4 separate regions of the Homo sapiens genome follow, and all the other regions are linked to region 1. The links are contacts of gene promoters, found by promoter capture Hi-C in blood cells and fetal thymus (Javierre and others, 2016). All regions are on one chromosome and are shown on one strand. Each heading gives the region's core, a stretch centred on a gene start or on the middle of the fragment in contact. The rest is flanking DNA. Distances are from core to core; before and after follow the strand shown.

Evidence for each region. The method cuts DNA at HindIII sites, captures the fragments that hold promoters and counts their contacts. A CHiCAGO score of 5 or more calls a contact.
Region 2: a contact is called between a fragment that was not itself captured here and the fragment with the promoter of ENAM in region 1, in 1 of 17 cell types (total CD8 T cells). The highest score is 5.1, in total CD8 T cells.
Region 3: a contact is called between a fragment that was not itself captured here and the fragment with the promoter of ENAM in region 1, in 6 of 17 cell types (total B cells, naive CD4 T cells, non-activated CD4 T cells and 3 more). The highest score is 9.2, in total B cells.
Region 4: a contact is called between a fragment that was not itself captured here and the fragment with the promoter of ENAM in region 1, in 10 of 17 cell types (fetal thymus, total CD4 T cells, M2 macrophages and 7 more). The highest score is 12.5, in fetal thymus.

The regions. Positions count from the first base shown.
Region 1 is chr4:70,624,075-70,631,565 of GRCh38, reverse strand. ENAM (enamelin) reads right to left here and starts at 2,822. Exons shown (of 9, transcript NM_031889.3): 1 at 2,602-2,822; 2 at 2,012-2,125. The coding sequence starts at 2,065. The HindIII fragment of the contact is 672 bases long and covers 2,172-2,843 here.
Region 2 is chr4:72,306,753-72,314,243 of GRCh38, reverse strand. It overlaps ADAMTS3 (ADAM metallopeptidase with thrombospondin type 1 motif 3), which reads left to right. Exons shown (of 22, transcript NM_014243.3): 12 at 422-567; 13 at 1,778-1,953; 14 at 3,063-3,196; 15 at 4,724-4,847. Among named protein-coding and RNA genes, the nearest start is that of ADAMTS3, 260 kb to the left of the region's middle. The HindIII fragment of the contact is 2,835 bases long and covers 2,011-4,845 here.
Region 3 is chr4:72,286,355-72,293,845 of GRCh38, reverse strand. It overlaps ADAMTS3 (ADAM metallopeptidase with thrombospondin type 1 motif 3), which reads left to right. Exons shown (of 22, transcript NM_014243.3): 20 at 2,784-2,991; 21 at 4,978-5,095. Among named protein-coding and RNA genes, the nearest start is that of NPFFR2, 260 kb to the right of the region's middle. The HindIII fragment of the contact is 9,952 bases long and covers 1-7,491 here.
Region 4 is chr4:71,705,040-71,712,530 of GRCh38, reverse strand. No RefSeq gene overlaps it. Among named protein-coding and RNA genes, the nearest start is that of GC, 75 kb to the left of the region's middle. The HindIII fragment of the contact is 5,854 bases long and covers 802-6,655 here.

The sequences.
Region 1 (7,491 bases), core at 1,573-4,072:
GGAAATGGATGGGGCCCCTGCTGCCAGTTTTATTTTATGTCAAGAAACTATTAGATAGTTATCATCTGGTACTTTTCAAGCTGCCAAAAGAGTCAGATTAAAAGGAAATATAAGTGTGTGTGCGTGAGAGAGAGAGACAGGGAAAGAGAGAGACAGGGAAAGAGAGAGAGACAGAGAGAGAGAGAAAGAGAGAGATATCATAGCACCAGAATGTGAAAATTAGAAATTAGGAGGTTATCCCCCAAATAGGAATATTAATGGGTTTGAGTTTCTAGTTACTAGTTGATTTATAAAGAAATAGTGATGTCCAACTACATTCATTGTACAGAATAATCTCAGTTTCAAGGAGGGCACACTCCAAAATCAAAACTTTGTGCTACTTTCTAAGATGTTATAGATAATATTCTGTTATATAGAGACTAAGTAAACTGGAATATGCAGAATCTTATTTTTTTCCTGGTTTCCTCTATTGTTCCTGTTATTATTATTATCATCATCATCACTTCCTTTAAAAATCACTTATGTGGCCAGGCGCGGTGGCTCACGCCTTAATCCCATCACTTTGGGAGGCTGAGGTGGGTGGATCCCCTGAGGACAGGAGCTTGAGACCAGCTGAGCCAACATGGTGAAACCTTGTCTCTACTAAAAATACAAAAATTAGCCGGGTGTGGTGTCTCACACCTGTAATACCAGCCACTTGGGAGGCTGAGGCAGGAGAATCGCTTGAACCCAGGAGGAGGAGGTTGCAGTGAGCCAAGATCGTGCCATTGCACTCCAGCCTGGGCGACAGAGTGAGACTCTGTCTCAAAAAAAAAAAAAAATCACTTATGCTCTAAGATGGTCAGGAAAATAGGAAGAAATAGGAAATAGGCAGAATAGTAAATTTATCTCTTTATTAGATACCTTGATTAAACATATAGACTTATGTATGAAGTTTGGAGATTGTTTTTAACGGGGTTCATTCATTTATCCCACTCTAGTTAATTATGAAAGACTTGTAAAATTAAGTCTCGTATTTACATCTTGGAACAAGGTTTATTCTGAAACATTTACTTGAGTAATTTCTTAAGAAAACTTTCTATTTGCATATACAATAGAGGAAAATAAAAGGTTTTAATCAGAATGATTCATTTTCATCGTATATCAGATATAGTCCATTTCCTAGCAGAGTAACCAACATGTAGACACTCAGTTGTTTTCATTCCTTTCATTCTTTCTTCCTTTTCTGGACATAAAATCTATCTAGCATAATTGGAGCCAATGCTCACCCTTCTGTTTACTTCCTATAGGAGCAACATAAATGACGCTTTAGCATTTTTATAATGGACATTTTCCTAAATTGTGGGTGTAATCAGTTATCTTTCATACATTAGAAAAATTGGCAGAATGTAATTAAACAAAGGAAGCAGTAGTATGTAAATACCTTTCCTACTATTTAAAGATTTTCAGAGTTAGAACATCATAGAGAATGAAAATAACAGCTGAATGTTATTTTAGAGTGTTTAGTATAGGTTACAACAATATGTGGAAACTAATAAAGAGAATACTGGTGAAAGCTTTCTTTGCTAAATGTTTCTAAGATTATGGCCCAAGATTTAAGGGTGCTTTTGGATGGTTAATTTCTGCCTTGCTTAATCATTCATCTCATCTCTCTAGTAGCTGTCACAGTGATTCTTGATAATATATGTAGCCTTTATATTTGCAAATAGAAAACTCATTTTCTCTTTTGTAAAATTAATATATTATGTTGGATGACTGAGATCCCTTCCATCTCTAAAAGTTAGTGATTAAAGTCTATAATTAGTTATTTTTTGAGTTGAAAGTAACACTCATAATGATTGCCACAAAGTACAATGACTGTGTAAGTTCTTCTTCCATTCCATCTGTGAAAGCAGATGCTCTTTGAGTCTTCTGATACATTTCAGTAGTGTTTGGCCCTCTCAAGTGTATTTCTGACAGTATCTAGTTTGAGAACCTGTATGTATTGGCAAAAATAAATGAAAGTACTCACCAAGTTATCTAGTTTAGGAAAAGAGGTTCCAAGCCTGCACCGAAGCACCAACATTTTTTTCAGCAAAATTTTTATAAGCCTTTAAGAAAAATACAGCTTTAACCTGAGAAGAAACTAAAATATAGAAATGGAACAAATAAATGAAATGAATAGCAAAGCTTCAGTTCTAAGGCAGCACATGTCATGTTAATTATTTTATCCAGTCATACCTGTATTAGGGGGCCACAAAATCAAGTTTAATCTTCTGTTGCTTTAAAAGTAGGATGAAAGCTAAATCAGAGAGGAAATGACACAGGCACTGTATTTTGAGATACTTCTAGGGCGATGTTGACAAAACTAGACTTCACTATGGGGAAATGTACAAAGTCACAGTAGTAAAGGAGGTCTAAGAAGGCTGGAAAAAACTTACAAGAAAAACAAATACACCAAATAAACCAAGGAGTTTAAAGTTTTATCAGAAGATTAGTCTGCATACAATGATTATACAACCAACAAGAAGGAATGCAATAAGGAGAATTAACCAACATCTATGAATTAAATTCATTATTTGACACTATATGTAATTTATGTTGATAATCTCTAATACTCACCCAATGCCAATTAGAAGCTGTAATATATAAAAAATAATTTTTACTTGAACTTTGTTAGCTTGCCTTTGAAATATATTCTTAATGGTCTATAGTGGAAATAACTACAAATTGCTGAAGCCAGGGAGATCTCAAGAAGCAAGATACATTTATTTCTTAATAATAAAACAAAAATTCTTCACTCAGATATCATGTTCAGTATCAAAAAGGCTCAAAATAAAAAGATTCCTCCTTGTCAGAAAGCTTGGCACAGCAAGGTTCCATTTAAGCACTGTTGTAGACCTGCATAACCAATCAGCTTTGAGGAAAATGGTTTTGTCATCACAAGAGTTTAAGGTAAAAAACACACATCGAATTTAAAATTTAGAATGTGTTATTATAGGAGCTGTCAAGTCAAGTCTCTTATTACGTATAATAACAGTCCAGGAAAATGAGCTTACAGCAGTAAGATTTAGAAGATGCTTCCCTTGGTGAATTTGGCTTTCAAAGTATAGAAACTATGTTTATAACAAAGATATTTCAGGAACAAAGGCGAATATTAACTGTATGCTATTGTCATAAGTCAGTTGCCTTCATCAAAAGGCAGGCTAATATATATATTTACTTAATATACATTTTATATGTAATTAAAATGAACTGGAATGTTATATCCATGGGTGAAAACTCAGTGACTTGATTTACTTTGTATTACATAAGGCTAGCAGGACATAGTGTTCTTTTTGAAGTCAAATATAATCCAGTCACTGGGGATTCAGAATTTTAGATGAGTTGGGTACAATGGCAAATGAACTCTCAGCTATTATGATAATACAACTTAATGAAAATAGGACCTGAGTAATTTAATGAAACAGTTATGTTATGGATTTTTTTCCTGAAATCTGACTTTCCATAATAAAGATTTCACTTTCAAATAGATAGGCCAATTGCACTTTTAATTGACAAGAGCAAGCTTTGCTATCTTTGCTTAACTTGGATTCTCCTGTTCTCTTATGGCTTCACAAGAGAAAACATTTGTTGTGGCAATGTTTGCTTATTTTAATGTTGGGATTTAAAAACCAAGAATGAATGAACTTGATGGCAAAACCTGTTCCTACTTGGTATGATTGTGTATATAAGTTAATCCAGTGGTTGCCCATGGTGCTGTTCTTCCAAGGACAGAGAAGTGCTGTGTCATTCCTTTTGGGCCAAATAGCATTGTATTTCTCAGTGCCTCTCTGCTCCACATATTTCGTGCCACAAATAATAAAAATGTGCTAGAATATTTGACTTTAAATGAAGCTAGGACTATCTTTTAACTCTATGTGTATCCAAGATGTGCAAAGTTAAATCTGCTTCAAGTACCTGCTTGCCTTTGTCTGATTTTGTAGAAACTGAGTAGTATTTATCATATTGTGTGCACATTGAGATGAATTTGCAAATGGTAGGACACTTACGGGACAGTGACCTACAGTGTGTTCTTGGAAGTGAAATGGGAGTTCTGATGCTGGATGACCTGGCCTATCCTGTGCCCATTCATGTAGAGGGTAATTTTTGATTTTGGCCTTACCCATATAGGTTGTTGGGAGTTGCCACTAAACCTCACTTTTGATCACTTTCCTCTATTTACCCTTGTTCTCTTGGCCACAAGGGTGGTTAGTTGTCATGAAATAATTCATGTTTCTAAAATCCAGCCAAGCTATTGAATGAGTGAATTCTTAGTACTGTTGGATTGGATTGGGAGAATTACCAAATTTCCTTTCATTTAAAGGAAAAAAAAAAGCTCAAACTTTATAATTTTTTTTTTTTTTTGAGACAGAGTCTGGCTCTGTCACCCAGGCTGGGGTGCAGTGGCGCGATCTTGGCTCACTGAAACCTCTGTCTCCTGGGTTCAAGTGATTCTCCTGCCTCAGCCTCTAATGTAGCTGGGATTACAGGCATGAGCCACTGTGTCCAGCCTATAAAATGTTTTGAAATCAGTCCTTTATGAGTTTTTCCCCCTTTACTTTATCTCTATTTATTTTGTAAATTATTTTTCCCTTCAGGCAATTACAACTGTTTGTGAAACATGTTTATGATTTGGCTTAAATTTTTTTTTTTAATGTATCTCTTTGATTTTTTTCTCTACATTACCCTTCTCAGTCTTAAAATAAGATGTGTTAACCTGGGAGCTGAAACCTAAGAAATTGCATATAAGAATTTGTGCATTTGTGTGTAAATGTACCATTTTTTTCTCCCCCTGAAAAAGAACCCATATTCTCCAGGGGGCCTGTGAACTTCTTCCTTTGCCTCCACTCTTTAAGGTCCCCTCATTGCTCTAGATTTTAAGCCAGCAGGAGCAGAAAAGTCTTTTGATTTCATACTCTAGATGTAAGGGAAAGAGGCTGGGTTTTGAAATTGCCAGATCTAAGTTTAAACCTTCCACAAATTATCCAGCTGTTCAATTTCCTGTTCAGTAAAATGAGGGCAATATTACCTTCCTCATAAGTTTCCTCTAAGAAATGAATGAAGTAATAAATATAGCTTGGGCCACAAAGTGGGACTCCATCTCTACAAAAAAATATATTAACCAGCCACAGTGGTGTGTGCCTGTAGTCCCAGCTACTCGGGAGGCTGAGATGGGAGGACAAGAGGGCTCCTCAAGGAGCCCAGGAGGTCAAGGTTGCAGTGAGCTATGATCGCACCGCTGCCCTCCAGCCTGGGTGAGGCAGAGAGAGACCCTGTCTCAAAAAAAAAAAGTGAAATGCCTGGCTCCTAGTAGCCGACTATCAGTGACTGACTGATCAATACACAAAGGTACTTCATTGTTCCACATTACACCTTATAATGATTTACTAAGGATTTAAGAACAATAAATTCAGCCATAGTTCTCATAGTTCTCAGAGCAAATAGATCCTCCAAGTACAACTATGAAGGTAAAGTTCTGTGGATTAGTATTAACAGAACACTCCAACACTGCAGGATCACTGAATGAAGCGCCTGAGACAAAGTAGTGTCTTAGGGATCCATTACTGGTGCCAAATAGTGTCTAAGCATCCACAACCTTGAATTCTTTCTGAAACCATTCATTCCTATAGCCTGTTCTCAGGCTGTAAATGCGAGAGATCTTTCTATCAGAAGAGAAGAGGAGGCGCAGTTTAATTCCTCACAAATTAAAGGACTGATAATGCTTTATTCCATAAACATTTTCTGAGCTTTCTCTTCATGCAAGCCCTGACTTGGGTGCCCACCCATCCTGCACAGAATATTACGATAGCAAATTTTCTGAGCTAGAACTCAGTGGTGGGTTCAAATTCTGATTTCTACAACTTACTTGTTTTAGAATTTTGGTCAAATGACTTAACCTCTTTAAACCTCAGTTCCTCATTTGTAAATGGGAGACAACATTCTTTTCATGGGTTTGTTAGGCAGATCACGAGGTCAGGAGATCAAGACCATCCTGGCCAACATGGTGAAACCCAGTCTCTACTACAAATACAAAAATTAGCTGGGCTTGGTGGCACGTGCCTGTAATCCCAGCTACTTGGGAGGCTGAGGCAGGAGAATTGCTTCAACCAGGGAGTCAGAGGTTGCAGTGAGCTGAGATGGCGCCATTGCACTCCAGCCTGGGCGACAGAGCAAGACTCCGTCTCAAAAAAAAAAAAAAAAAAAGGAATTTAATGAGATAACTTAAAGTTCTTAATATATACTTCAACTAAATATTATAAATAAATAGATAAATGTTACCTATTATTATCATTAGAGCTTTCTCAATAGTTGTTTTATTACTGCTCACTGTCACATTTCCTAAAGATTTCTGAAGAATGTTTCACATCATTGTGCTTACTTATTCATTAAAAAAAGACAGCAAACAAAAAGCCTCCCAAAGAAAAACTGAGCATCTTCATAGAGTATAGAAAAAAGGAAACTAGGCCGGGCATGGTGGCTCACGCCTGTAATCCCAGCACTTTGGGAGGCTGAGGCAGGTGGATCACCTGAGGTCAGGAGTTTGAGACCAGCCTGGCCAACATGGTGAAACCCCATCTCTACTAAAAATACAAAAAAATTAGCTGGGTGTGGTGGCGGGTGCCTGTAATCCCAGCTATTCTGGAGGCTGAGTCAGGAGAATCACTTGAACCCGGGAGATGGAGGTTGCAGTGAGCCGAGGTTGCATCATTGCACTCCAGCCTGGGCATCAAGAGTGAAACTCCATCTTAAAAAAAAAAAAAAAAAAAAAGGAAAAAGAAAAGAAAATAAAAAGAAAGAAAAAGAAAAAAGGAAACTAGATCACAGTGTTTGTCAGATTTTATTTAATTTAAATTCTACTTTTTGTCTACTAATAAGAAAGTTGCTCAGTGAAGTCAATGAGTAACTATTGTTGGGTGGTGATTTATTAGTATTTGGATAACCCTCAGAGGTGGTGTTTATTTCCTGGGCTTCTAGCAGTAAGAACTCTCTTATATGTACTCAAGATCAGCTTCTTTCTCTCGTCACCTTGAGAAGAAAATAAAACCCAATGGTTAAGAAAACAGGCATTGGGGTTGGAAATACTGAATAATGTATACACTGTGCTTACAACAGTGCCTGACCCAGTAAGTGTTTCAGATGGGTTAGGTGTCATCTCATCATGGAAATAATACATTATATCTCATTACATTTCTTACAACAATTTTATGGTTTATTTCCTCCTTTGCCATAAAAAGAAGTATGTAACACTCTGTGTTTTCCTGTCACTCTGGTTACTAGGAAACTCAGAGCTAAATTTGATTCCTACTTAACAGAGGATCCAGGTTATATGAAGCCAAAGCTAATTAGATTTTAAGGGATCTCTTTAAGAAAATGAACACAAAGTTAGGTACAAGCGTAAATATTTGTTTTGATGAACTATAGAAATGATCCCTGAAAGTACGGTCTTAATATTTGTTTTCATACGACAAT
Region 2 (7,491 bases), core at 2,179-4,678, 1.7 Mb before region 1:
CTAAACCAAGACATAGTTTATTTTATCATTTTTAAAAAGATCATGTAGCCCTCAAAATATTCTGGTATGATATAGGTAGTGACAGATGAAGGGTAAAATCTTACCAACTGTGCAAGCTGGGTGCTCAAAGAGTTCTTATTGATTATAGTGTTTGATGCTTACTGGTGAATGTATCATTTAAAAACTTGTCTGAGTGAATGTTGTTTTTCCATTTTAATTTTCTACTTGAAAAATACAAGTCTAAATTACCCTTTAATAGGGTATATTAATGACATAATTGCTTTTGGATAATTTTAAATGCATCTCCACCTGGAAGAAAAAAGAGCAGTAAGAAAGCCCTTCAACTAGATGGTTCTTGTATAACAACTTCAGCTTTAGTGTATGCGTGATTTTAATAATTACCTTTTGTCATTTTTCTAAGTGGTGCTATAAGGGTCATTGCATGTGGAAGAATGCTAATCAGCAAAAACAAGATGGCAATTGGGGGTCATGGACTAAATTTGGCTCCTGTTCTCGGACATGTGGAACTGGTGTTCGTTTCAGAACACGCCAGTGCAATAATCCCATGTGAGTATATCCTTGTAACTCTTGTTATTTTTGGAGAGACCAGAAAATACTTCAATATTATGTTATTAGTATTCTGTTTTATAAAGTGCATGTAAAACACAGGGCAGGAAAATAAATTGTTCACAGTTCATAAACCAGTCTGTGTTTTTGATACATCTCCATTTATTAATCTTGTGACAAGCAGTCAGTGATGAAGAAGATCAAACGAAGATTGAATATTTTTAAAGAAGTTGCTGTTCAGGAATATTAAGAAGCTGAACAAGGAAAGTAGGTCACTGTGCCCTAAGGGCGTGGGCATGGGCACTGCGAGATTGACTGCCAGAAACAAGAGAGTGTCCAGGAAAGAGCGGTACCAAGCATACAGACTCTCTCTCTTCAGGGAGTGGAATGTGATTGCTTCAGAGGAAGGCAAAAGAAAGATTGTGATAGAAGGCCAGGTGACTGTTGGGGGAAAGTTATCTATTCATTCACTCAGACTACAATTACTGAATTCCCTATTGTGTGCTCAGCAATCTTTACGAAGAAAAAAACAACTGAATTCTCACATTTAGAGGATTCTGCCTTGTCTAGGGTTTAATATGTGAGCAGCTTTTTCTCTCTGTTTCTGGCAGCAGGATGTCTCTGAGCACGTCTTTTGTAAGACTATCTGATGCCACATACCTGCCTTCCCAGTAAGAGATGATGGTGGTATTAGAAGTAACAAAGACAATAAAAATTAAAAGATCAGCTAAAGTTCATTATGAGCCAGAGTTGTTAGGAGTGCTTTAAATAATGTCAACTCATTTAATCTTCACAGTTTTCCTCAAAGGAAGATACATTATTATTTGCATTTTACATATGAGGGAACCGAGCCATGGAGCGATGACCAAAGTTTCTTTGAGCTGCATCTGTGTGTTTTATACATGGTAGCAAAATATCATTTTATTGATTCAATATACATGCTTTTTTTTTCTTACACACTTTTGCCATGCATTTAAAATATATGATTTGAAAAGCTGATTTAAGTTGAGCTTTGTGTTTTGTTTTATTTTTCCACCCAGCAGGGAGAGAAGGGTGCTTTGGAAAGGGACTGAAATTAGGAAGTATGAGTTCATTCACTTTGTGCTGGCAGCCCAGAAACTTTGGCTTTGTGCCCTCAAGCACTGTGTCTGCAAGCTTCAACTGCTAGACAGAAGCCAAAAGGCCTTTTTAAATGTTGTCTTTTCTTTAGGCCCATCAATGGTGGTCAGGATTGTCCTGGTGTTAATTTTGAGTACCAGCTTTGTAACACAGAAGAATGCCAAAAACACTTTGAGGACTTCAGAGCACAGCAGTGTCAGCAGCGAAACTCCCACTTTGAATACCAGAATACCAAACACCACTGGTTGCCATATGAACATCCTGACCGTGAGTAGCCTCGTGCTCTCCTTCCTGCTGTGTGGATGGTTACTCACAGTTTAAGCTTTGCCAGCACGAACCCCATGGACTCTTGATCCCTATGTGGTAACTTAGGAAACTTGGTGCTTATAGGAGTAAGTTCTCCTGGGTTTCTAAGAATAAGGCTTAAATACCCTTTCTCTAAAGAGGTAAGAATGGTGCAATAGTTCCTGGCAAGCAGCACTATCACCATCAGCGGTGAAAAGACCAGTGGAAAGGAACGCCTGGGAGAGATGTTGGAATTCCTGATTCAACCGAAATCCCTCTACTAGGAAATACTTCTGGAATATTGTGATCTTTCCTTTCTGAACTAGAGAAAAATATAGTTCTTTGAAAATTGAGTCAGGACCAAGAGAAAGATCATAATTTAATAACAAAAGATACCTTATAACCTTTTACTTTTTTACTATAGTTTAAAGATATATTTGGAAATTTTCTTTTAATGTTTCACTTCTTACTTCTGAATTTTTGGTTAAATATGTCCAATGGCAACTTTTTGCCATACTTCTTATTTGAGTGAATGAAAGGAAATAGTTATATGATTACATGCACCACTGGGTTCAGTTCAAATCCATGTTAAAGGAAAGAGGAATACACGTTAAGAATTCAAAGTTGCAATGCATTAAGAAGAAATGCATTGTTTTTATCTATTTTGGTGAAGTGAGTTGCATCCTGTAAGAGGCAAAAACTATGTTAGATGATTGAGTCAAATCACAGACATTCTTTCAGTGCTCTAATATTACGAAAACTAAACTGGTTTTGAATTAAGATTTATTTAAGAGCTATGTTGAAATCTAGGGTTGCCTGGGGCAGTCCCAGTTTATACCTGTTGTTCCTGCTCAGTTATTACTAGAACCCCTTTTCTAGTTTAGATGACAAATTTTATGGTCACCTTAGCTAAAAAAAAAATGTCAAATGTACATACTTTCCTCCTTACTCCTTATTTTATTTGTTTATACGGTATTCCTTTTGTTTTCAGGAAATCACAGTGAAACCTTATATTTAAAAATAAAATAAACTATGCTGTTCAAACATTCCATTTTATGTAAATAGTTAATTTTATCCTCCATCTTATGCAGCCAAGAAAAGATGCCACCTTTACTGTCAGTCCAAGGAGACTGGAGATGTTGCTTACATGAAACAACTGGTGCATGATGGAACGCACTGTTCTTACAAAGATCCATATAGCATATGTGTGCGAGGAGAGTGTGTGGTAAGTTCAAATTGCTTCCCCAAAGGCTTTCTACGTTATCTACGTTTACTGTCATTCATCTGCACATTTTTAATTTTTTAAACTATTTTATCTTTGAAATCACATTATAGTAAGTGTCTATGAATAGTTCAATAGCTAAAATAAATTTGAGAGACATTGTACTTTCTCAAATCAAACTTTGGTCACTGGCAGAATCAAGGTTTAAATAATTTTCCTAATTTCCAGCCAAATGCCTTTTCTGAGTAACTCTGAGGCCTCTAGGTTGGGAATACAAATTGGTAATAATGCATTTGCTTCGGGTATTTTAGTAGCCATCTGCTATTAAAATACAAGGTCTTTTTAAAAATAATCAGTGCTAAGTATATTTAATCTTTTGTTGTAAAGATAATAAGACATTTCTTTCTCACCTTCCAATCAATTCTAAGTTTAAAGGCTAAATTTCACATTAGAACAAAAGTAGTAGAGAAGCAAACATGTTTTTTTGCTCCATTTAATCTCAGGTTAAAAATGCATTTTATTTCTTGTGTTCATAGTTAAATCGATATGAAATTATCTTATTAACTGAAACACTGCTCCTAACATATATTTCCTTTATACTTCATCAAAACTGAAGTGCTGTATTAATGAGTCTAAAGTAATTGAGCTTACATTTTCCTGAAAGCATAGTATGTGTTGTTCAGCTTTTACCTGCCGCAGTACCTAGTACATTAAACGTATGTGTTGTCTTTATTTTCCCTGCCACCTTTCATCCCATACTTTTGAGTGCAGTAGTGTATTGTGTATCATTATTCTACAGTGATTTACATTAAGAACATGCCTTGGTTCAGAAAACCTTCAATATTTTCCTGTTTCAAGGGAAAATGTAAATTCTTCCTGGTATTCAAGTCTTCTGCAGTCTATTCAATGCAGATTTTTCACTGTTCTTTCCTTATCATGAAACACTAACCTTCCATTGGTTTAAATATGGGTTTAGATATTGACCTCTGCACCCACTTTCCATGAACATACTTCTCTGGCTTTGTTGTAACTCATCTGCTTTCCTGAAATGCTTTTCTATTCTGTGTTTCTTTGGCCCCTGTGAAAATCTTCACCACCCTGGTGAAGTTTTGTCTCACATCATAACCATCTTTTAAAGATTGCACTAATATACAACTCACTATATTATCCATCATCATAAATGTGAGAGCAGCAAGGGAAAAGCACTGTCTTGTTGTTTTCTTGTCTCCTCAGCATCAGCTACATCTGTTTTCATTACATGTGTGTTTGATGACTATGACAATTTAAAATGGTGTAAATATTTCATTGGACTGGAGGAAATATATTCTTTATTACTTAGGGTACAAGTCATTTGGTTTCCCATTATTTTTTTTAAAAAACTGAGGTATTAAAAATTATGACTACAGTGGCAGTTTGCTATAAATTGGCTGACTGTGGGCCATGACTGAACAAAGGGTTCATCATTCTCTGGGATGTTGACCACTACTGGGCACACTAAAATTAGCCACATTTGACATCTTCTCTCTCCAGAAAGTGGGCTGTGATAAAGAAATTGGTTCTAATAAGGTTGAGGATAAGTGTGGTGTCTGTGGAGGAGATAATTCCCACTGCCGAACCGTGAAGGGGACATTTACCAGAACTCCCAGGAAGCTTGGTAAGATGAGGTCTCTCATGGATTTAGTATTCTTCTCTGTGATTTGTACTTTTTGAGGCTTCTTCCTTTAGAAATGCAGCATTTTCTCTATAAACATAATCAAAATTTAGCTGCTGATTTATTGTTATTCAGATTACCTTTTAAGGAACTTAAAAAAAAAAAAGAAATCACTTTGAATGAATTCATACTCCCTAGCGTCAATGATGAAAAAAATACATACTAAATTTAGAAAAGAAACAAGTAAAATCAGTATCAGTTATACTAGCTAGCTAAAATCTGTGTTTTATTTTGCATTTTTAATAAAATGCAGATTGAATTATTAGAATTGGTGTTTATTTTGAATTCTTGTTGCATATAAATTATTGATCAGGAGTTTAAAAATTACAAAATTTTAGATACAACTTTTAAAATATCACATTAGTTTTACTTATTTTAAAAGTGAACAATTTTATCCTGTTTATAAATCTAGGAATCTTGGATCTGTATTTCACATAATTTTTAAAAATTTACTTTAAACAAAATTGAGGTACAACCAAAAACTAACCTGAGATGTAATTGCTCATCTCTATAAATGTTTATGCTTGTTACATAGTCAATAACTTGAACTTAGACATACACTGAAGGTTCAAAGGTGGAACAAAAAGCTGTCTTCATGCATCAAATAATAGGCAAAATTATCCATAGTTTAATAATATTCATTGGAATTTTCATAAAAGATTTGTATACAGACATTTATTACTGAATAATTTCTTGAGTTTGTATCAGATACTATTCAGTTATTCAATAAGGATTTATTTGGCAAATGTTTCTGGGAATTCAGCACTTAAAGATAAATTTGATGTGGTGTTTGCTCAAGAAGATTTTGATGTCTTCCAAAGAGCCGTTGGTATCTTATAAAATCATGAAAGTAAAACAAAAACAAAGAAATATGGTTTACGTTAAGTAAATTGTCATTGGGGTAACTTTTCCTTTTATAAAAAAGTTAGTCTTCATCCAAATGAAATAATTCTCTTAGTTTTTGTATTTTTTATTCCCATTATACCCCTGATACCTAACTCAATTACTAGGAGACTATATTCTAATGTTTTTCTTGTTACTGATGTCTTTGCTATTCCTGTGTTATAAATTACCATGTTTTGTACTTTGAAAATTGTTAAAAAGCAAATATTGCTATTTCTGACTGATTGCATTATTAAAGCAAAGAGAAATATAATTATATACGTGTATTATATTTCAGTGGAGTCAAATGTAATTTTCTTCATCTTGCTGTGAAATAATATACTGTGCTTTCTTGGAGTTACATTTTATTCTTTTCTTTTGGATGTAAAATAATTCATTTTGTTTTATTTCCACAGTGAATAATGTAAAGAAAAGGTTTTGCCATGTTCATTCATTGTATATTATGTATAATATAAGGTATTGGTACTGTTTTTCAGAGAGTTCAAACATCATGCTAAACTTGCAAATCAAGGCCAAAAGAACATTAGAAAATTTTCATCTGTCATACCAATTCAAACTGTTCAAAGATAATCTAACTTCCATATCTTTGCACTAATATTGTCATCATAGTGATTTAATAGACTAATTAACCTTTTCCAACAGGAAAACATTTAAGCAAGAGGTGCCATAAAGAATTGAAGTTGCTGGAAAATGAAATCTGCAAGTATTCAACTTCAAATCATCTACTTAGTCTTACTTTCATGCTTAGTCTTACTTTCATTGACTATTAACAGTTTATTGGCATTATCTATTACAAATGCATTGTGACTTCAACACATAAACTTACAGAACATATTTTATAACTTGCCTAATAAAATATGTGACTTATGGGATAGTCAATGAAACAACAAGACTTTGATAAACATGAACCCTCCACTAATTAAAGACATTCTATTTAAGGGAAGACAAGAGGCGCTTTCACTTTACCCAAAGGAGCTCGTAATATTTCTCTTGCTGAAACAAGAGAAGCTAAAAACGTACTGGGTAAGTTGTAGCAAACTGCAGAAAGATGGGCATCCATAAATGGCATCAAGCTGTTTTGCTGTACTTGGCATCTTAAGCATGTTCCTTTTAGCCACTGTGTACTCAGGCAAACATGGTACATTTCATGTGTTAGACTTTACCCCAGGCTAAAGTGCTGAACACCCTGATCCCAAAAGGACCACTTTATTTAGTTAGGACACTAATAAATATTGTGAAAAACTTAGGTAAATCTATTCATAGGTGTATATTATTATACATATACAAATGACAAAAACACTTGTTTTTTCTTATTTCATCAATAATTGTGGATTGATAACTGGATTTCTGTTAATATTCTCCATAGAATATGTATTGGATGTTTCATAATGTATTGAAGGTGTAGGTTACATAATCATTTTATATTCATTTATTTGTATGATAATGAGATGTATAACATCTGTTCTAATTGACCTGACTATTGTCAGGTCATAATATTTATGATTTATGGTCATAATCTTAATTCTAAATGATTGTAAGATAATTTTTAGGACATGTGATAGTATCAACATAGTATGTGATATATGACATTTACAGTAATAGGAATGATATATGATTTTAAAACACAAAGCAACCTATTAAGCATATTGATTTTCTTATTTCTGGCTTAGGAGGTTTTGAGGTT
Region 3 (7,491 bases), core at 1,388-3,887, 1.7 Mb before region 1:
GAATATCAAGGATTCATTTCCTGTTTCTAAGTAATTTCTTTTGAGTTCTTTTCTTCCACTTCTCCACACCCACTCCACCTCCATCATTTATGTTAGAGGATTTCTATGTGGTAATCCTGGGATGTTCATACGTGTATAAAAATGCAGTGTTTAGAAGGCTGATTAGAAGTTTGCCTTACAGTCGTGGCTCGTGGGCTCAACTATAGGGTGATCTGACTCAGCTATTTTATTGAAAGAGCCTCAATTAATTGTATATTTAGTGTTTTTCTTATAAAAAAGATTCCATAGAACAGAATCAATTTCTTGCCTAGGGAGTGTAAGCCAGTTTAAAGGCTGTTCTGGAAATGTGTATAGGTTTCTAAAGCGATCTCACCATTTCACAGATGGATTTTTACGTAACCTTCTGTTTTCACTGTGGTTTCTTTCTCTCTTGATCATGTCTATTGTATCCAGTTAAGTCTGGTTCACATTCTACAGAGGATAAACCTCATGTCTTCTGCGTTGGAGGAGGGCAAATCACCCTGTATGGTTAAGAATCAGGAGGTCTAACTGCTTCCAAACAGACTTTTCATTAGTTATCCTGCTTTCAGTCTTGGCTTCACCCTTGTTTTCACAGCTCACACTGAATCTAAGGCCTCTAATCCCTAAATATTTCTAAAGTTCTACAGTGCAAGTCAGTTTGCTCATCACCTTGTACTGCTGAGTTGGACTTCATTCTTCTTAGATCTGCTGAGTTAGTTTCCATATGTCCATCTGTCTTCTAGGTTCCAAAATTATGTTGCTGTGACTTCCTCTCAAATTTCTTTGTCTTTCTAGATTTATAACATTTTTGTCATTTACTTTCATTCTGAGATCTTAGGAGGGAATGGAGGTAATCAGAAGTACCTATATCTGTGAAGTATAATATTTGTCTTCAAAAGAGAGTCATCACTGAAGTCTTCAAAATTGAGCAAAATTCCTCAGTCCAGTTGCCTTGAGACATTCATTTTACCACCAGTTTGACAAGCTAAAGCAGTCTTAAACTGTGAATACCAAAGACTGCCAAGGTTTTAGCATGGTTATATTTTGGTGCCTCATATATATGGAAAGAAAAATAAATTGCAGAGGGAAAGTAACTTTGGAAAAGGCAAATCCATTTTAGCCTGAATTACATACAGACAGCTTGCATAACCAGATGGAGTCAATGGTGACCACCCTTTGGGACTTGGTAACCATGTGTACTGGAGAACTGTGTGTAATGTTGTATCCACAGCTGATTTGGAGAGTGCTTGGGACACTGACACTGACATTAGAATTTGGGAATGTCCCCTGGTTAATATTTTGGAAAATGCCTCTGGAAATGTTTCTATCGGGTGCATTTGTGTGAACAGTTTTTACCCAGCCCCAATGCACACCACCCTTACCTCTTGTCAGGCCCAGTAAGGGCCAATAAGAAGAACTGCATTATCCAAACAGTATAGATATGTCAAGTAGCCTTCATAGCAACAACTGTAGAAATAAAACAGTCATATCAGTTAAAATATTTAAACATGAGTGAACTCTCCAGATTTTATAAAAATGTGCCCTCGTCCAACCCAGAAAAAGACATGAGGTGTATCCTCTGTAGAATGTGAACCAGATTTTTAACTATGTATAATAGACATGACCAAGAGAGAAGGAAACCATAGTGAAAACAGAAGGTTATGTAAAGAAATCGTAAGTGTGTCTTAGCAACCATTAGATGGATTCTGTTTTAAAGATTCACTGTCAGATGTTTAACACCATTAGGCAATGTAACTGAGAGTGAGTTGGTGCTATCCTTGAAAACTGCCTTCATGCCTGAATCTAACAGGGCAACTTTAAGATGAGTTTCAGAAACCCTCTGTAGATCATCCTTTAGGAAAGAAGAAGATTTCAGAGTCACTGAGAGGCAGAAAAAAATAGGGCATTAAAAGTTTCAGCCACATCCTATTTGAGAAATAGGAAAACTTTTACACCGTTGGTGGGACTGTAAGCTAGTTCAACCATTGTGGAAGTCAGTGTGGCGATTCCTCAGGGATCTAGAACTAGAAATACCATTTGACCCAGCCATCCCATTACTGGGTATATACCCAAAGGACTATAAATCATGCTTCTATAAAGACACATGCACACGTATGTTTATTGCGGCACTATTCACAATAGCAAAGACTTGGAACCAACCCAAATGTCCAACAATGATAGACTGGATTAAGAAAATGTGGCACATATACACCATGGAATACTATGCAGCCATAAAAAAGGATGAGTTCATGTCCTTTGTAGGGACATGGATGAAATTGGAAATCATCATTCTCAGTAAACTATCGCAAGGACAAAAAACGAAACACCGCATGTTCTCACTCATAGATGGGAATTGAACAGTGAGAACACATGGACACAGGAAGGGGAACATCACACTCTGGGGACTGTTGTGGGGTGGGGGGAGGGGGAGGGATAGTATTAGAAGATATACCTAATGCTAAATGATGAGTTAATGGGTGCAGCACACCAGCATGGCACATGTATACATATGTAACTAACCTGCACATTGTGCACATGTACCCTAAAACTTAAAGTATAATAATAATAAAATAAAAGTTTCAGCCTACTATTGTTAAAAAGTTATCCATTATATCCATCTTTCTGAAACCACTTCCTGAACTGCAGTGTGCCCACTAGGTTGCAAGTCACTTAGAGAGCAGAAAAGTCTAGGCTTTGCAGGTAGAAATGTGTACACTATACATACCAGTGATAATTGCAATATTAAATCCCCGCACCCACAGCTGGGTAGCAGAAGAATGGGAACACTGCACCAAAACCTGTGGAAGTTCTGGCTATCAGCTTCGCACTGTACGCTGCCTTCAGCCACTCCTTGATGGCACCAACCGCTCTGTGCACAGCAAATACTGCATGGGTGACCGTCCCGAGAGCCGCCGGCCCTGTAACAGAGTGCCCTGCCCTGCACAGTGGAAAACAGGACCCTGGAGTGAGGTAGGTGTGTGAATTCCGTGCATGCATAAGTAAAGTGTGTGTGTAAGCATGTGTAGATATTTTAATTTGGCTTAAACATCAGTTAGGCTTTGTGTGAACTGAGAAACTACTGCATATTTTGTAATTACCTGGAGGTGTTAGGAAAAATTAATGCTTTAAGACAGTACATGTTAGGGGCAAACCATGTTTATGTGTTTCATAACATAGAGAAGAAGTCTGAAAGATGACTGTTCTTTTGTCTAATATTTTTGTTGACTTCCCTATTCCTTCAGTATAAATTCCAAACCCCTGATATTGAATGCAGGGCCCAGCACCATTTGGCACTGCACTAACTCCTCTTATTCTTTCTTCATTCCAACTCTTTGTCCCAGTTCGAGTAAACTTCACACTGTTCCAAACAGACCATGCTTGTTTGAGCCTCCTACCTTTCAGCTGACTTGTACTCCCCCTCCTCCTACCTGATAATCTCTCCTTCTCCACCAAACCTCATCTCCGTAGTCCAAATGACCACCTTCCAGGTGGTACCTTTCCTGGCAGTTCCTCCTGTATATCTGAAATGCAGTACAACTTAACTTTACCATGCTGTTCATGACAGAGTATTATAACTCTGATTCTTGAATCTATATTTGCCACTAGTACACACATTTCTCAAAAATAGTATGCCTTGTTTCCTCAGCACTCAGCTAGTGCCTAGCATACCTGTCCAGATGATGTTTGTTTGCTAATTGGCTGACTCAATGTTGCATTGTCAGCTATTACCACCTGTCTTAGATATTTCTAAAGACTCAAAATAAGAAATCTTGGGGTCATAGGAGAATAGTTTATAGGAGGAAAGGGCATGAAAAAGCAGACAGAAGACTAAAGAGTAAGTGGAGAATAAGCCCAGAAAGGAAGAAACAAGCAAGTTGTCTTATCTATTTCTTGCTGCTTTAACAGAATTCCACAGATTGGGTAATTTATAAAGAACAAAAGTTTATTTGGCATATGGTTCTGGAGGCTGCAGAGTCCAAGAGTATGGCACTGGCATCTGGAGAGGGTCTTCCTGTAGCTGAAGGCATCACATGGCAAGGAGGCATGCAAGAGAGACACAGAGGATCCTTCTATCAGTAGCCCATTCCTGCAATAACTAACCCATTCCCAAGATAATAGCATTAACCCATGCCCATAAATCACCTCAGAAAGGTCCCACCTCTTAAAGGTCCCTCTCAACATTGTTACAATGGCAGTTAAATTTCAACCTGAGTTTTGGAGGGGACATTCAAACCATAGTACAAGTGCAGGTCACCCACATAGGATGATAATGATAACACATATCAAAGTCTCAGTAGAAGTCCCTCCTCCACAGCACCTTCCTAGGGCCATTACATGGAACTTTCTGAGCTTAGTTTTAGAGCAGTAAACCTTTTCATTAGAGAAATGAACTTAAGAGCACAGAGAAATAGTAGTTCCAAGGATGTTGAATTAACCATCCAAGGCAACTTATCAGTAAATTCTGCTATCTGTAAGAAAGAAGTGAGGACTGTCAATACTATGATTGGGTCCCTGAGAACAGACATCATCAACATTGTATTTAGAAACTACAGCAGATGTTACCATTGTTATTAATCATGGCTTCTTTCATATGATATGCTTACTAGGTGTCAGGAATTTTGTTACTGCTTTATACACTTTGTTCCTTTGCCTTCATTTAGTCCTAAAACAATCTTATAAGACAGGTATTATTATCCCAGCTTTCCACTAGATAAGGAAGGTGAATCTTATGTAGAAAAAACAATGCTCCCAGGCTGGTAAATAATGGAGTCAGAATATAAACTCAGTAGTATCTGTCTTCAAAACCACTGTGCAGCATTACTTAATAGAGAACCCACTCCAGATCTCTGTGTCTTTGTGTGTGTGTGTGTGTGTGTGTGTGTGTGTGTGTGTGTGTGTGTATGTGCATGGTCTTGGTGCAATAAATGTCTGTAACCACAGCCTTTGTCTCTGCAGTGTTCAGTGACCTGCGGTGAAGGAACGGAGGTGAGGCAGGTCCTCTGCAGGGCTGGGGACCACTGTGATGGTGAAAAGCCTGAGTCGGTCAGAGCCTGTCAACTGCCTCCTTGTAATGGTAGGTGTCACACCAATTGACTTCACTGCTCTGATGTTTTTAAACCTCAAAAAGCAGAATTTCCTTTTGAGAGAAGTTATAGAATTTATATTTGTTTACTGATAAATAACCAAAGGAAAACACCTGTGAAATATTAGTCCAGTTCAGTTCTTTAAGATCAGCATTTGAGGTAATGTCCTACACTTTTTAATTATCATGATCACTATAGCCCTGCCATTTCTGGCTGGTGGCATTGGAGTGAGGGCTGTGCCATGTATATGTAACGTCTATCAATTTGTGTTGCTAATAGGAACCACTTAATTTTTCCTTGTTATATTTAACTATAACTTCACATCTTTATTAAAAGCATAATTTTGCAAAGATTTTGAAATATTTTACTAAAATTATTCAATTTTGATCTGTGGGTAATGTTACTCAACCCTAAAGCCATTTCCAATAACTGTCTGTCCATAGAGTAACTTCAAACAGACACCTTGCACATAGGATAAAATTCAGCATTTGCCTGACCTGCCAACTTGCTGTATGGCAAAAGCAGAGTATATTTTCTTTATTTAGTCAATTTGCTATTTTAAAACAGCAAAATGGGGCCAGGTGCGGTGGCTCATGCCTGTAATCCCAGCACTTTGGGAGGCCAAGGTGGGTGAATCACCTGAGGTCAGGAGTTCGAGACCAGCCTGAACAACATGGTAAAACCCTGTCTCTACTAAAAATACAAAAATTAGCTGGGCATGGTGGCGCATGCCTGTAATTTCAGCTACTTGGGAGGCAGAGGCAGGAGAATTGCTTGAACCCAGGAGACAGAGGTTGCAGTGAGCTGAGATCACGCCACTGCATTCCAGCCTGGGTGACAGAGTGAGACTCCATTTCAAAACATAAGTAAATAAAACAAGCAAAATATATTGGATGGTTTTGGGCTCTATCACTGTCTCCTTCTGCCTCCATTTCCATAGCTCTCTATCCACATCTCTGTCTGTCCTGTGCTCGGTCATCTGTGTCTCCATTTGCTGTCCTCTGTCTCTCTCTTATTTTTGGTGTCTGTCTTGCTCTGTCTCTGATGAGCTGTCACCTGCTGCCTGTATGTGGCTCATTTTCTATGTCAGCCACACATGCTTTTTCGAGGCCTTACTCTTTCTTCTTGCTGTCCTTCCCTCTCCCTCTCCTAGTCTCCCTGGCTGTACCTCCTATCATTCTTTTTCCCTCTCATCTTCTCTCTCCTCCTGCCTCTTCCTGGCTCTCTCTTTCCCCTCTTTCCTTGTTCCATGTGTCTGTCTCCCTTTCTCTCCCATTTTCTCTTTCTCGGTGTCCTCCCCTTCACCCTCTCCCTTTCTCTTTCTTTATCCTCCCCTTCCTCTCCAACTTGGTATGTCTGTCTCTGTCTCTCCATCTCTTCCACCTCTCTCTCTCTCCCTGTCTCTTATCTCCTCCACTGCCTTAGTCTGTTCTAGCTGCTATAACAAAATACCTGAGACTGGGTACTTTATTAAAAAAAAATTATTGCTCAGAGTTCTAAGTCTAGAAGCCCATGATCAAGGCATCAGCAGATTTAGTGTCTGGTGAGGGCTTCCTAGATGGTGCCTTGTTTTTCTGTCCACATGTGGTGAAAAGGGCCAGGGAGCTCCCTTGATTCTCTTTTATAAGGGCATGAATTGCATTCATAAGCGCTCCACCCTGATGGCCTAGTCACCTCCCAAAGTCCCCACCCTGTTAGTACCATTGCCGTGAGGATTAGGTTTCAACAAAGGAATTTTGGGGGCACACATTCAGGCCATACCCACCTTTTTCCTCTCCTTCCAGCCTCTTTTTCTCTACTCCTCCATCTTTTACTCCTTGTGTCTGTCTCTTTCTCCTCCTATCTTTCTCTTCCTAGCCCCTCCACTGACATCTTTTTCTCTTCCTGTCTCATTTTCTCTCCCCAAGTCAGTCTCTCGCCACCCCCATCTGTTTGTTGCACTCTCTCTTCCGTTATATTTTCTTCTCCTGCCTTGTTTTCCTAGCCCACCCATCCCCATCCACCACAACCCTTCTCTTAAATGCAGTTCTGCTAAAGCCACGACAGTGACAACTGTGGACGTTGTTTTCACATATTAGAAGACTCAGGCCTAAAGAAGTTGCTTTTTCCTTGGCCTCCAACACCATAAGTAAGACATTGTTTGAATATTGACATCTGCTGAATGGTGCTTTTTGTCAAGAAAATTGGCAAAGCACTATCTTGTCAAATGTTTTATTTTTTGAAGCTCATTTTCAGGCTTTAAGTCTTCAACCCTTATAAATTACTTCATTATAAATTTTCATCTGAAATATATTATAGCAAGAACATATCTGACCATGAGAGGGAGACATAGGACTTATATATTTAATCATTTTACTTTGGAAAGTATTGACATATGTAAGAGCTC
Region 4 (7,491 bases), core at 2,479-4,978, 1.1 Mb before region 1:
CCCTTACTTGCCCCACGCCTTTCTTCCAAACACCACAACATATTTCTCCATTTTCTTTTTCTTAAATAATTTATTGTTTAGCATTTCTTCAGAAGCAGTATAGGTGCTTTCTGATACTTTATTCTGTGCAACAGGGTGAGCCCAATCAAAATATTAGTGCTGATAGGGAGCTGTGAGTCAGAGAATATGGCCCAAGCCAGGGCAAATGCAGCAGGGGATGCAGCCCAGACACTCAAGACAGAGCAGATCATAAGAAACCAGAACCAGGAATGAGTGGGGTCTAGAAATACCCCCAAACCCTTTATCCTTAGATGCTAACAGAGATGAAAACAAGAACCTAGACACTTCAGGAGCACTCCGAGACCGCAGGCTGTCAGAAAAGAGTGTGGCTACCCCGTTAATGAGTCAGTGTTAGGAAATCTGTCTGCTTACACCCCTGGTTCTTGTTCACTGAAAGATGCCTCAGGACTTCAAAAAAGGCTAATAAAATTAAAGTAGTACTTGAATACACATCCCACATTTAGAAATAGGAATAAATACAAAATTGGAGAAAGGGGAAAGGGAAATAAAAAAAGCTGACCTCCAATTATATATTCTTTAGCTCAGGGAGTATTCTGCAGACACAAACCAACTATCACTAGCTACACTGTGAGCTCACTGAGGGCAGAAACGAAACCAGGGCTACCCTTTCTATCACCAGTGACCAGTCTGGTACCTGCCACACACATTCTCTCAAAGAATGTTTGCCTTTGTTACTGCTGTTGTGGAAGATGCAACTGAGTATATACCAAGGTGAAAGCTTGGATATTGTCCTGCTTCTAAATGACCAAAGTGCATGGTTCTGACCTTTAACCCTCTCCTAACCTTCAAGCTGAACATGCATGTGAGCATATGAAAGTTTAACCACTCCAAATAGGAAGTAAGACCAGGGTGCAGGCTTTAAAGGGATGTAAACTCCCTGTGTGCCTGTTACAGTTGGTGGCTCCTAACACCCTGAACACCCTTCCAGCTAATGATGAGTTTATAGAATTGCTTTGTAAACATGGTCTAATAGGCTGGAAGCCAGAAGATCTACACCCTAAGCCTAGTGTTGTCACCTGCTAGCTGTATAATCTGAAGCAAGTCACTTAACTATATTTGCTTTTCTTTTTTTATAAGTTAGGTCAATTGCCTCTAATGTTCATTTCAGGGACAATATTCTGATTCTAAGCTGGTCATAAAGAAGAGAAAATTGGATTTAACCAGGCCAACTAGTGTTCCTGATCTTTATAAATTCCCACACAGTCTTTGCCTCGCCCTAATCCACATACTTTGCAGTGTGTGAACAACTAAACTGCTTACAGGAGGATTAACTGGTAACATAAATGCAAGGAGTATTCCACCAAATTACATGTAATCATCTTTTTATGTACTTTAGGGCAGGAGTAAACTCTTGCCATTTCAACACATGCTAAATTGGTTAGCTAACAGCCTAAGAAAAAAATTTAAAATAACTTTAAGTGAAACTATAAAATATAAGAATTATATGCTTCATTCAATAAACCTTATATGCAATGGCCTTTAAGTTTACTACAGATGTCACATGAAATAATGATAAAATTAGCAAATGTTGACAGATTAAACCATCAGTAGACAACTGATTGGAAAAATGGGCCAATGGAGGTAGAATTCTGTTTGCAGATACTCAGTTTGCAGCCCTGTGCCACTGAAGGTTATGGCAAATTGTGTCACTGAGTTGATAATAGCTCAACTCTTTAATATGAGATTTTCAAGCACGCTAGAAAGGGGCAGGGGCAGGGGATGATGAGTTTGGGAGCTAAGGCAGCCCTGGGAGAGGCTACTAAGAAGTTAACTTTAATCTCCAAAAAATCAATCCCCTTGGCATCACCTTTCCACCAGGATATTCAGTGTTGTCCATGAAACTTATCACAAAAGTCCTTCAGTTCAAAGCACATCACTTTGCAATCTAATAAAAAATTTTCTATTCAATTCCTGTGTGGAGTAAGATGAGGAAAGCGCATTCTACCTTGTCTCTCCCACTGAATGTAACCAAAGACCTATACAGAATGCACGAAGTAGACATTTGAAGACTCTGAAAAGTAAACAGCAGCAGGCAGATGACTGATGAAGACCAAATTTAAAGTACCCTAAACACTCGTGTGTGTACCATGTTTTCCACTGATGTCCTCTGGCCTAAACTCTAACCAGCCTAAAAACCAGAAGTAGGCATCACTGAAAACAGAAAGAGCTCTAGGGGAAGCCCCATAGTTTAGACTTGAGAAGTGGGCAAGGGGTCACTTGGCAGGGGATGCTGCAAGTATCTAAAATTCTGAGGAATTAGAAACTGTCTCTCCACGTGGGGGAGCTCAGATCCCAAAACCTAAGAGGGTGGGGTGAGCCCCATTGTTTTCTTCCTTCTCTATCATTCTACTACTTAGCCACAGCACTGGTACAATCATCAGAAGTGCCAGGCAGAACAGATTAAATAAAAGTCCAGCTTTCTGGAAGCAAGACTGAAAAGGGGAGCTTCAGGGAACTGGAAAGTAATGGAGATATCATGGAGAGAACCCGAGAAAAGCAACCCAGTAAAGTTGGTTCTGAACTCCTAGGCTGATCTCCAAACTATACAGGCATGGATCTGCCCTAATCAGCATACCAAAGACTCTGAAAACTAAACTAAAAGTTAAATCATCGCCCAGGTCTTAGACTGGCCACCGAATAGTTATACACATAGGTCTGGTCCAAATAACACTGCAAAGACTTTGAAAATAGAAACAAAAGAAGAGATATCATAACAGACCATGGAGGTATTAAAAGAAAAATTAGGAAATACTACGAAGTACTCTATGCACATACATTTTAAAATACAGATGAAATAGACCAATTGCTTGAAATCCACAACTACTTAAACTCATTCAAGATGAAATAGAAAATGGGAAGAGTCTCATAAGTATTAAGGGAATTAATTTTGTAGTTTGAAACATTCCAAACAGAAATTTCCAGCCCCAGATGGTTTCACTGGTGAATTCTACCCCACATTAAAAGAAAAAAATTGCACATATTCCACACAATCTTTTCCAAAATTTTCCACCTTACTTTCTGAGGCCAGCCTTACTCTAATACCAAAACCAGACAAGGATAATAGAATAAAACTACAAGCCAATATTGCTCATGAACATAGATACAAAAATCTTCAACAAAATATTAGCAAATTGAGTATATATATATATGTGTGTATATATATATGTGTGTGTGTATATATATATATATACCATGACCAAGTGGAGTTTATTCTAGGAGTGCAAAGGCAAATTTAAATATCAGTCAATGTATTAGGTTGGTGCAAATTTTGCCATTAAAAGTAATGGCAAAAAAGGCGATTACTTTTGCACCAATCTAACAGTTCACCACATGTAAGAAAAACTAAAAACTCTACAGAAGAAAGACCAAAAATTCAATCAATTAATGCAGAAAAAAGCATTTGACAAATTCAATTCAATTCATGATCCAAAAATCTCAGAAAACTAAAAATAGGAGGAAACTTTCTCAATGTAATACTACTAACATCATATTTAATTGTGAAGGGCTGAATGCTTTCCTCCTCATAATGAGAACAAGGCAAGGGTACAACTCTTACCACTCCTATGCAACACTGTACTGGAAGTCATAGTCAGTGCAATAGGGTGCAAAAAAGGAATAAAATGCATACAGATTTGAAAGAAAGAAATAAAACATTTCCTATTTGCAGATGATATGATTGTCTATGTAGAAAATAAAACCTCCCAGAACTGTGTGTTTAACAAAGTTGCAGTATACAAGGTCAATGTACAAATATCAATCATATTTCTATATACTAGTGATGAGCAATTGAAAAGCAACTTTTTAAAAATACCATTTACATTAACTTAAAAAAGTTATGTGTGAGTTTAACAAAAGATGTACAGGTTCTACAGGGTAAAAATTACAAATGCTGCTGAAAGAAAGCAAGTAAGACTTGAAAATTGAGAGATATACTATGTTCATTGATGGGAAAACTCAACGTACTAAAGATGTCACTTCTCTCAAATTGATCTACTCATACAATGCTATTTCAATCAAAATCCCACAAGATATTTTGTTGATACAAACAATCTGATCCTATAATTTACGTAGAAAAGCAAAGGAATTAGAATCACCCAAACAATTTTAAAGGAGAATAAAGTTGCAGGACTCACATTGCCTGTTTTTAAAACTTCTTATAAAGTGACAGTCATCAAGACAGTGTGTCATTGGCAAAGAGACAGACACATCAATCAAGGGAAAAAAATGAAAAGTCCAAAAATAGACCCACACAAATATGACCAGTTGATTTCTAACAAAGATGTAAAGACAAGTCAATGGGGGAAAATAGTTGTTAAGCAAATGGCATTGGAACAATTCCATATCTATAAGCCAAAAAAAAAAAATCATTACCTAAATCTCATACCTTATGTGTTAATTAACACAAAATGGATCATACACCTAAATGTAAAATTATACAACTTTTAAAAGCAAACATATAGGGTTAAAATTCATAGGCATGTACACCAAAAAAGTCAATTTTACTACATGCTTATTTTAAAAATAAAATTGTTAAAAACCCAACTCATCCTCCGATTCATGTTCATCGCTATAGACAATAAGTAGCAAAAGATCGCATAAGCCTTTTAAAGGGATGACAATGAGATAGTAAAATTTTAACTAAATTTAAATTTTTGACTCCAGAAAAATTTCCTAATGAATAAAAATACCAACTTTTGCTATAAGCCTGCTTGGTTATTTCTCCTCAGTTCACACCATTACACTATGTTTACAAATTTGTGGTCTTGTTGAAGATGTCTGTTATGAGTTTAAGGGCATGGGTAGAGGAAAGCCAGGGTCAAGAAAAGTGTGCTAGCTTATATTCAATAGGCTAAAAGTTTCAGGTGTACCACTATAACTTAATCTCTAACCCACTCAGACTTATCTACGCCCCCTGTGGGGAACATCACTAAAGAACAGAAAAGGTACAAAGAGAAAGATGAGACATCAAAAAAATGAATAGCACAATGTGGCAGATGGTAGGTATATTAGTTTACCATTGCTGCTCTAACAAATTATCACAAACTGAAAGGCTTAAAACCACACAATGTATTCTCTTATCTTTATGTAGCTCAGGGGCCTGACACAGGCCTCACTGGCTAAAATCAAGTTGTGAGCAGGACTACCTTCCATTCTGGAAGCTCTAGGGAAGAATAGGCTGTAAGTAGGGAATAGCTCTGATGGAAAGGAGCCAGGAGAAAGACAATGAGAAAGAGAGAGAAGGAAGGTTGAAAAGATGTTGGAGAGACAGGAGAGAGGGAATAATAGAGCAAAGCTGAAAAGTTGGGAAGGTGAGAAGAGATGGGTCCAGAGTATAAGCAGAGGGATTTTTGGTGACAGAGGGGTGACCACGCCTTTTTCACACTAATAAGAGATGAGGAGGAAAGGATGAGCACAGATATAGGTAGGATTATTTTTGCATGGTGATTGGAAATTGAGGGAAGTTTGTAATGACTAAAGTAACTATGTGTCCTAGCTTGTCTGGAACAATCCTAGTCAATACTCATTGTCTCGGTATAAAGTTATAAGAGCATCCCCTTTGACTCTCAAAGCTGTCTCAGTCTAGATGAGAAATTGTATGGTCACCCAACTTAGAGTGCTTTTTGTTTTTCCTCAGTAGCGTTGGAGATGGGATGTGGGCACAGATTTTAGGAATGTGAAAAGGTATGAAACAGTGGCTGTGGAGAACAGGAGAGCAAGCTGACCACAGCAAAAGAGGATATAAGGCAGCATTACAGGCCCAAGGGATTTGGGACTTCTAGTTTTTAGAGGCATCATTTTATATCTGTCACTGTACAATAACCTGCTAAGACCTGCAATAATGTGCCTACTTAGAAGCAAGGAAGCTGACTCAGAGAGGTCATATAACTTGTTCAAGGACACAGTAATAAGAGGTAGATCTTGGATTCAAAACCAGGTCTTTCTGATTCCAAGATGTGGGTACTTAATCACTACACTTTATTGTCATGGGGCCTCTGGGGGTTTTAGTTAGTTTGAAGTGCTACCTGTCCTCTTGACTACCATGCTATATTGTCTATATTTTCTACATTTGTGATATAGAGTTGTCATTGCTTCAATTATACACATACATCTTTATATTCCAAATCTGTAAATTACAATTTTTGGAAAAGACTTCATTCATACCATGTGAAAATTTGAAAACAAAGCTAAGAGAATGAAGACCCTTGGGTATAAATTATTGCTTTGTGCTCTCAGCTGAATTATTACAACACACTGGTATGAGGAAAGGTCACTAGTAACATGTTACTAATAATAATGATCACAGGGCAGTTTGCATATGACTTATTTTGAAAAAAAGAAATAGAGGAGATTCAAAATCATCTTTACATGTGTACAATGGGAGGAAGGCATGATCCCTATAAGTCTAAAAACCAAGACAAATTTTCTCCTTGCCTTCTCCTAATGCCAGATTTATCAATGATTGTAAAATGCTTACCACTTTCAAATTGCTGTGTATATGCAAGGAGGAAATGGGGAAATATTGATCTGGATTCTTTGAATGTTTAAGAAAAAAACAACCTGGAACATCAAAGCTTTATTGGTATTTTGTGTTGCTAAAAATAAATTTTCTATCACCTTTTGGATAGGAGTTGGGCTTTTAGAGTAAACATTTTCATGAGCCTCTGCTTATGCAAAGGTAATAGAAGATTCTGTTCTGAAATGCTGAATTTGTAATAAAAGAAATCTAACTACTCCAAAAAGCAATGTAAAAGGCTATTTTCTGTGGTCACGGCAGCATTTCTGAAAGATTATCATGGGGTTAACTGGTTTGGTTTCTCTTGGACAGCAAGAATAAAGTTAAAATGAGGTTTTCTCAGTAAGAAAAGTGAATAAATCCTAGAAATTTAGTTGAGGGCTGAGGAATGACTGATAGATTTTAGGAATAGGATTTCTACTTTTCTGCATTGTAATTACCTTATGTTTCCATAAACTTTGTTTATTCAACAGGTTTTTAATGAACTTGTACTATGTGCCAAGCAATATTGCACTGCATGGAGAGTAGTTATGAGATAGCAGGGGTGGGAAAAATGGTGGGGAAGCTGGGCAAAGCCACAGCCAGATGACGGTAAGTTCTATCTGTGGATTCCCAGGACTCATGAAGGAGTCTGCACTGTGTGACTTCACATATGATAAAGACCCAGATGATAATAATTTGGGCATTGAAAGGCAGCCAAATATAAGAAGCTAGTAGGCCCTTGTATTATGTCTATAATAACAAGAATTTAATTCTCAAACTATCAGTTATATTACCTTCAGTAAGAGACAAAAAGATAGCATCAGAAATACTGCTCAGGGAATTAGCTTAAATTTCATTTATGTGTATTGCATATATGAATGCCATCATTTATCATGAGTGCTTACTGTGGAAGA